Linked DNA regions of Homo sapiens: regions 2 and 3 are each linked to region 1. The links are contacts of gene promoters, found by promoter capture Hi-C in human tissues and cell types (Jung and others, 2019). All regions are on one chromosome and are shown on one strand. The core of a region is centred on a gene start or on the middle of the fragment in contact, and the rest is flanking DNA. Distances in the headings are between cores, read along the strand shown.

What was found. Contacts are between HindIII fragments. The study calls those that stand out against the background at their distance.
Region 2: a fragment that was not itself captured here is called in contact with the fragment with the promoter of PDE4B in region 1 in 3 of the 25 tissues and cell types used here (IMR-90 fibroblasts, adrenal gland and bladder).
Region 3: a fragment that was not itself captured here is called in contact with the fragment with the promoter of PDE4B in region 1 in 2 of the 25 tissues and cell types used here (neural progenitor cells and pancreas).

What each region holds. Positions count from the first base shown.
Region 1 is chr1:65,791,549-65,794,409 of GRCh38, forward strand. PDE4B (phosphodiesterase 4B) reads left to right here and starts at 1,347. Exons shown (of 17, transcript NM_002600.4): 1 at 1,347-1,700. The HindIII fragment of the contact is 13,295 bases long and covers 1-2,861 here.
Region 2 is chr1:65,903,389-65,906,249 of GRCh38, forward strand. All of the region lies in intron 1 of PDE4B (phosphodiesterase 4B), which reads left to right. Among named protein-coding and RNA genes, the nearest start is that of PDE4B, 110 kb to the left of the region's middle. The HindIII fragment of the contact is 5,447 bases long and covers 1-2,861 here.
Region 3 is chr1:65,863,401-65,866,261 of GRCh38, forward strand. The region is part of intron 1 of PDE4B (phosphodiesterase 4B); the gene reads left to right. Among named protein-coding and RNA genes, the nearest start is that of PDE4B, 72 kb to the left of the region's middle. The HindIII fragment of the contact is 6,954 bases long and covers 1-2,861 here.

The DNA of each region.
Region 1 (2,861 bases), core at 97-2,596:
TGCTTCTGTTGTGAAATACTTGTGTTGTTTGTCTCGGGCTTTCATAGTTGGTTCTCCTATTAGGCAGTGAGCTCCTTGGGTGCAGAGACTATGTCCTAATCGACTCTGCATCCTTAGCTTCTGCAAAGTGCTCAGTGCACAGTAGGTGTGCATGATGTTTATTGGAATAAATCGAGAAACAGGCGAATGTTGTCTATTAAAGTCATTTTGGTCTCTAGCTACTGTAGTAGTTGGATAGGCAAAGTTACTTCATGCCTATCTTCCTCCTCTTTTCCTTGCCAGCTTCCTTCTTTTTTTCTCTGACTGAAAGGGCTGGACAACCGGGGAAAAGGAAACTTGTGCTTTCCAGCATACCTCTCCCACTCTACACACACACACACACACACTCTCTCTCTCTCTCTCTCTCTCTCTCTCTCGCTCTCGCTCTCGCTCTCTCTCCATCCTGTTGCATTTTTAAAGCAGGCTCAGTCAGGTTACTGAGTGCCTGTTGCTCCATCACACGAATTCCCAAGTTGTGGGACTCACCTTCAGGGGTGTCTTGGTGGAGCACCTCTTGGGAGGTGATCTGACCTGTTGGTTCAGGAGCACTGCGCGTATTCACTCTGGCGCTCCTTTGTGCAACAGGAGACCAGAGGACTCCCACGGTCCCACTGGCTCCTTCCACGTAATGTGCCCCGCTGGCTCTCTCGCCTCCCCCAACCCGGGGGTCTGCGTCCCCTGCGCCCCAGTCCCTCTTTGTGCAGCCAGTAGCTGCAGAGCTCTTCGTCTTGTATTCATGGCAGATGCACAGCGAGTGACTGACACGTTCCAGGGACGGCGAATGGGAAAGAGCGCGGGCGGCCGGGGGAGGGTGTGTAGTGGCAGACGGCCGCTGGGATTATGAATGGGGGCTGGGGGGCCGGCGAGTGTGGGGTTCAAACCAGGATTTTCGGTCTCTGGCTTTGGATAGGCACGCAGGGCTGTGCGTAATCCTTCAGCTCTGGTGGTAAGGGAGATGCAGTGAGCTCCCGGCTGGGAGAGAGGGTTATTTTGCAAAACTCCCCTGGTACCGTGCCCGCGGAATATTGCAGGAGGTCTGTGAGGTAGGTGGGGGAAAAAATAACCTGGGAGGGCAATCAGGGAGAGGCCAGACGACTGGGGACGGCGTGCTTTGCACCCTAGAATTGACAGGTGGTGGCCTCAGCAGTTACAACCTACTACACAGCATCTCGTCCGTGCGATACGGTCACATTGTTATTCCCCGCACCCGGCTGAGGAGCGCAGCGCGGCAGACCAAGTGGCACCGGCGAGCTGTCTCTCTTCCGGGGGGCGGGGGTGGACAGTAGGGAGAGGGGGTTTAAAGGGCCAGAGGACGAGAGAAGAGCTGAGGGGCGCGTCGCCAGCGCCTGTGTCTCCCTGGCGCGGGTTCCCCAGGCTAGCCCGCTGGCCCGTCCGCGCGCGCGCCCCCGGCCCGCGCGCCCCTTCCCGGGGCTCCTGGCCTCGCCTCAGCGGCTGCAGGCTCTTCGTCGCGGGCCGGGCTGCACGCGAGCGCCCTCCGGGCAGACTTTCGTCCCCCACCCCCGGGAGCGCGGAAGGCTCACTCGCAGCGCATGGTCTACCCGCGCCGGGCGGAGCCCCGGCGTCCAGAGCGCTGCGGCCGCGGCGGTGCAGCAGAGGCGCCTCGGGCAGGAGGAGGGCGGCTTCTGCGAGGGCAGCCTGAGGTAAGGGCTGCCTAGGAGGCTGCGGGTTTATTTTTCCTCATTCTCTTACTTCATCACACACTGAAGCCTCAATGGAGAGTGTAGGGTGCTGTGGGGCTGATGTGGGGCAAAGAGGGAATGGGGCCGCCGGGCCTGGATGGTCGTCTTGACGGCGTCATTGTCGCCCCTTGTAGGAAATCCGCCAACCGGCCCCTAGCCTTTCGCCCTCATCTTCTCTGCTTCGGCTTCCGCCCTTGGACCTCTTGACAAGTCACTGGGGAGGAGAGGATGGAGAGAGGCTAAGGGAGAATGGAGAGAGGCAGAAGGATTCAGGGCTTGGAAGCCCTGGAGTAGGTGACGGATGGGCGCGCGGTGCCCAGTGATTGACTGCAGGCAGCGGGCGCGGAAGGGAACCTGAACTACCCAAGAGTTTGCTGGGCTGAGGCTCCAGGATGCTCCTGCGTGCCCTGGTGGCTGGGGCACCAAGGAGGGGCGCACTCAAGCCTCGGCATCACCAAGGCTCTGCCAGGAACTTTTGGGAAGATTTGTCTGGTGTTTGGTGAGGGGGCTTGGACCTTTCTAGCTACAAGAGTGTGTTGGGGAAGGAAGAGGCTCTCCTCCTTTCTCCTGTCACTTTCCTTCATGCCTACTCTCTTCTTCCATCTTCCTGTTTTGCCTCCTTCCTTCCCGTTTTTCACAGGCCACCTTCCTTGTGCGGTACTTCAAACACAAATCGGAACCCACTATGGCCAACAGCTTTAAAGCGTGTATAAGGAGGAGCGCACAGAAGAATCGCTCTTAATTACAGTAGTTATATATGTGTGTGTGTGTGTCTGTGTGTGTCACACACGTGCCTGGGATAATTTTTAGCAAGACTTTGAGACGGTCACCTAAAATTACATTGTACTTACATTAGGTTTACATCATAATTATATGATGCCACTGAACAGAAATGGTAACTCTATGCATTCTGCATCTTAGATCTGAGATATAACTGTTCTTTGAATCACATGCATCGTTTAATTTCAAAGATTTCCAGCTGCTGGAAAACTCTTGGCTAAGTTATAAGAATGAAAGGCACATTAAGCATAAAAAAAGTAATAAATGTCCAGATACTATTTTTATTAGTAGATCATACTCCCCCTCCGTTTCCTTTTGCCAAAAGCTGTTATTATACCAATT
Region 2 (2,861 bases), core at 102-2,601, 110 kb after region 1:
CCCATCTCTACAAAATATGCACACACACATGCACACACACACACACACACACACACTAGCCAGGTGTGGGAGTGTGCATCTGTAGTCCCTGCTCATTTGAGAGGCTGATGTCGGAGAATCTGTTGAGCCCACGAGGTTGAGGCTGCAGTGAGCCATGGTCGTGCCTGGGCAATAGAGCAAGAGCCTGTCTCAAAATAATTTTTAAAAAATTTAAAAAAACAAAAATAAATAAGGAAATGATAGTTTCTAAATATGAAGACACTTAAAGACCAATAAAAATGTATTTCTATGTTCCTTTATGTTCTATCAAAACAATATTATGTGGCATTCTAGTATTACCACATGAGTTTCAGCCTTCTGCTTTTGAAATTGTTTCTGTTTACATGCTTATTTTTCGTATGTCCACATAGACCTGAATCCCCTGACATTTTAATAGAGCTGGGACAGACAGGCCCAAATTGGATGTTGCTTCTAGGTAGGGAATCACTGGCAGACTTCATATCCAATTATATTTCAGTTAAGCCAGTAAATATTAGGCCATTAATTCATTTGAAGTCCTGGAAAGATTTCTCACATTTTTGTTATCTTCCTCTTATGAAGTCTGTAATGATGTAGTATTTATATTTCTGAGAAAGGAATGCACAGAAATTTTGTGTGCTTGCTTGCTTAAAACAAGAATGAACTATTGCCCTTTGTTGTTTCAGTGGTCTTCCCAAGAAAGGAAAAAAAGTTACTTGATGAAGAGTGTCTGGGGTCTTTGAGTCTACATAGAAGACTTACACCAAATTACTGTCTGTGTCCCATATACCCCATGAAACATGTTTGAACAGCACTGTACAGGTGGACAATTTTTTGAAGTCTAGAGACATAGCACTTGTGAATGAATGTCATGAGTCTTCTGTATTAACTTAAAAAAAATTTAGTATTGGATCAAAGTCTAATTTAGAAGAAAAAATACTTGGTGAATTCTTGTTGAAACATAAGATAAAACAGAGACAAATTATTATGCTTTTTAAGTTATGTTTTAGATATACAGTTTTATACACACAATTTACGTTTTCCAATTTAATGTAAATTCCTATGAGATTACATGAAAGAGTAGCTGTTCATAGGCTCCATATGTTCTGCCAACTGCATATCTCTCCTTTATGTTTCATCATTAAAAAAATCTTCTGATTCCTTTCTTGTTCTGAAATACTACTTTTATTCCCAATTATCCTGTTTCTTGGCCCTGACCCATCCTATTTGCTGCTTGTTCTCTGATAAACAATGCTTATTTGCTGCTTCCAAGTGGCAGCAGACGTAATGGTTAATTTCATGAGCTCTGCAGGCATAGTGCCTGGGTGTGAATCCTGTCTCTCTGCCTTTTCCTAGATTAGTGAGCTTAGATGAGTCATTCACCCTTTCTGGGCCTCAGAATTCTCCCCTGCAAAATGGAGATAAAAATAGTTGTGAGAATTACATGAGATGATAGATTTAGGGACTATAGAATAGTGCCTGCCATAAAGTTATTCATATCTCTGTCAGAAGAGTAGGAATATGTATCCTGTCAATATAGCTGACATTTGCAGTTTACCAGGCATTCTGATTCTATTTCCTGCCCCCTCCTATCTGCTGCTTTTGGATTATCACACTTTCAGGGAATCTAGCAAGAGGCCTCAAGCCTATCTAGTCTACTCATTCAAACATTTTCCAGCAAATATTTATTGCTTGGCACAAGAGATATAGTGGTTGGCAGTATTCTCTATGAGCTTCTGGGAGGCATAAACCTATTCATTCATACAAACAAATATGTAATTGTGAAAAATACTGTGAATAGAAAAATAATGTGATAATACCTTCTTACAGGTAGGGGAAGTCCATAAAGGCTTTTCTGAACAAATGACATCAAAGCTGAAGGCTGAAGAATGGGTTAGCCCGGCAAAGTTGAAGACATGTTATAGTGTAGGAAAAGTTTGGAGACAAGAAGGGCATGCTGGATACACTCTACATCCAGTCGAACTAAAGCTAAATGAGTTACAGGGGAGAGTGATGTGGCATAAGCATAAGGTGGGGAAGCAAGTGGAAGCAAAAATAGGAAGTTGAGGTTTAAAAGTCAAGCAGGGACCAGATCTGTAGGGACTTGTATGATTAATCTTCATATTAAGGGTTTTGCTTTATCCTAAAAATTACAGAAAGCATGAAGAATGCAAAGCTGGGGATTAATATAAGGAATTTTGCATTTTTAAAAGATCACACTGGAGAATAGAGAGAGGGGGAGTGGAAGGGCTTCTCTCTTTGTTTCTTAGTTACAATACCTGGAAAAGGACAGTAGCCTCCTCAATGAAGCTTTCCTTGATAACATTTTGCCCATAGAGGTGGCTTCACTCATTTTTTCACCTAATGAACCCATGATCTGTTGCACTTCTCACACTGCACTGTGAACCTGACCCAGGCCAAGGTGTTCAGTATTGTAGGATGAATAAGCGTTGATTCTCCTCTCCTAAGATGAGACAGGGGCATTTTAAGGCCAAGGACTATGTATATTCGTCTTTGTATTATCCACGGCATCTAGCAAGTCCCTACCACATGTTGGGCTCTCAATCTTTTGTTGATGTTGTTGTTGAGAAATCAGATGAAAAGAAGTGGTTTTTCATGATGGATGGAAATGGGGGTTTTGGATCATGGATGCAATTTAATTTTTTATACTCTCATTGAAAGTTGGTAATATTAATTGAAATCCTAGAGTGGCTGTTTGATAAATACCTTTGAGGGTAGCATTAGAAGATCTAAATTTGAGCATGAGCAGATGCCCAGCAAATATTAAATGAATTGAATGTGTTTCAGCCATACTTGCCTATTACATCTGTTTGTAGATCTTC
Region 3 (2,861 bases), core at 181-2,680, 72 kb after region 1:
GCTGAGGAGTGCTTTACTTCCAATTATATGGTTAATTTTAGAATAAGTGCGATGTGTTGCTGAGAAGAATGTATATTCTGTTGATTTGGGATGGAGAGTTCTGTAGATGTGTATTAGATATGCTTCTTCCAGAGCTGAGTTCAAGTCCTGAATATGCTTGCTAATTTTCTGTCTTGTTGATCTGTGTAATATTGACAGTGGGGTGTTAAAGTCTCCCACTATTATTGTGTGGGAGTCTAAGTCTCTTTGTAGGTCTCTAAGAACTTGTTTTATGAATCTGGGTGCTCCTGTATTCAGTGCATGCATATTTAGGATAGTTAGCTCTTCTTGTTGCATTGATCCCTTTACCATTACGTAATGCGTTTCTTTCTCTTTTTTGATCTTTGTCAGTTAAAGTCTGTTTTATCAGAGACTAGGATTGCAACCCCTGCTTTTTTGGCTTTCCATTTGCTTGGTAAATATTCCTCCTTCTCTTTATTTTGAGCCCATGTATGTCTTTGCCACGAAATGGGTCTCCTGAATGCAGCACACTGATGGGTCTTTATCCAATTTGCCAGTCTGTGTCTTTTAATTGGGGCTTTTAGCCTATATACATTTAAGATTAATATTATTATGTGTGAATTTGAGCCCCATATTTCTTGGAGGCTTTGTTCATTCCCTTTCATTCTTTTTACTGTAATCTTGTCTTTATACCTTATTTCAGTAAGTTGATCTTCAATCTCTGATATTCTTCCTTCTGCTTGATCAATTCAGGTATTGATACTTGTGTATGCTTCACGAAGTTCTTGTGCTGTGTTTTTCAGCTCCACCGAGTCATTTATGTTCTTCTCTAAACTGGTTATTCTAGTTAGCAGTTCCTGTAACCTTTTATCAAAGTTCATAGCTTCCTTGCCTTGGGTTAGAACATGCTCCTTTAGCTCAGAGGAGTTTGTTATTACCCACCTTTTGAAGCCTACTTCTGTCAATTCTTCAATCTCATTCTCCATCCAGTTTTGTGCCCTTGCTGGAGAGGAGTTGCGATCATTTGGAGAAGAGGCATTCTGGTTTTTGGAATTTTCAGCATTTTTGCCCTGGTTTTTCCTCATCTTTGTTGATTTATCTACCTTTGATCTTTGAGGCTGATGACCTTTGGATGGGTTTTTGTGCGGGGGTCCTTTATGTTGATGTTGATGTTTATGTTGCTTTCTGTTTGTTAGTTTTTCTTCTAACAGTCAGGCCCCCTCTTCTGCAGGTCTGCTGCAATTTGCTGAAGCTCCACTCCAGACCCTGTTCACCTGGGTATTACCAGTGGAGGCTGCAGAACAGTAAAGATTGCTGCCTGCTCCTTACTCTGGAAGCTTCATCCCAGAGGGGCACCAGCCTGATGCCAGCTGGAACTCTCCTGTATGAAGTGTCTGTCGACCCCTGTTGGGAGGTCTCTCCCAGTTAGGAGGCACGGGGTTCAGGGATCCACTCTAGGAGGCAGTCAGTCCCTTAGCAGAGCTCAAACACCGTGCTGGGAGAATCCACCTCATCAGTATCAGCTGCTCTCCTCAGAGCCCACAGGCAGGAACGTTTAAGTCCACTGAAGCTGCGCCCACAACCGCCCCTTCCCCCAGGAGCCATGTCCCAGGGAGATGGGAGTTTTATCTATAAGCCCCTGTATGGGGCTGCTGCCTTTCCTTCAGAGATGCACTGCCCAGTGAGGAGGAATCTAGAGAGGCAGTCTGCCCACAGCTGCTTTGCCATGCTGTGGTGAGTTCTGCCTAGTCCAAACCTACCAGCCTCCTTAGCACTGTCAGGGGAAAACCGCCTACTCAAGCCTCAGTAATGGCGGATGTCCTTCCCCACACCAAGCTCTATGGTCCCAGGTAGACTTCAGAGTGCTGTGCCGTTAGTGAGAATTTCAAGCCAGTGGTTCTTAGCTAGATGGGCTCTGTGGGAGTGGGACCCGCTGAGTGAGACCACTTGGCTCCCTGTCTTCAGCCCCCTTTCCAGGGAAGTGAATTGCTCTGTCTTGCTGGGGTTCCAGGTGCCTCTGGGGGGTGGCGGGGAGGGGAGGGGAGGAACAAAACTCCTGCAGCTAGCTTAGTGTCTGCCCAAACAGCTGCCCAGTTTTTTGCTTGAAACCCAGGGCCCTGGTGGTGTAGGCACATGAGGTAATCTCCTGATCTGCAGATTGCAAAAACTATGGGAAAAGCGTGCTAGGTGGGCCCAATAGCACAGTCCCTCACGGCTTCCTTTGGCTGAGGTAGGGAGGTCCCTGGCTGTTTGCATTTCCCAGGTGAGGCATGCCCCACTCTGCTTCTGCTCTTCCTCCGTGGGCTGCACCCATTGCCTAAACAGTCCCAATGAGATGAACTGGGTACCTCAGTTGGAAATGCAGAAATCACGCAACTTCTTTGTTGGTCTCCCTGGGAGCTCAGACTGGAGCCGTTTTTATTCGGCCATCTTGCCAGATCCTCCTGAATTCAGTCCCTCTCTGATACAGTCTTTCTCTCTGTCTCCCTCTCTCCCTCCATCCCAACTCCACCACCCCCACTCCTTGAAACTAGTACAAAGCTCTGATCCTGTGTGAATTGTAGCTGCTCTGTAGACCTAAACTTTCTATAAGTAGGCTGTCCCAAGATTTGGACTCGGACAGGTTATCCTCACACCAAGCCATGTTCTTCAACAGCTTTATCAGTATGAAAGATGATATTTTGCTCTCCACTTGTCTCTTTCATTTGATTAGTTCCAATCTTGGGAAAGGGAGGGGTTAATCATTATTGAGCCTCTAAAACTCCAACTTTTTTTTTATTTTGTAAATTTGCCTTAGTTTTATGGTTATATGGGCACTAGATGCAAATAATTGTATTTATTTTTATGTTACATAAATGTAA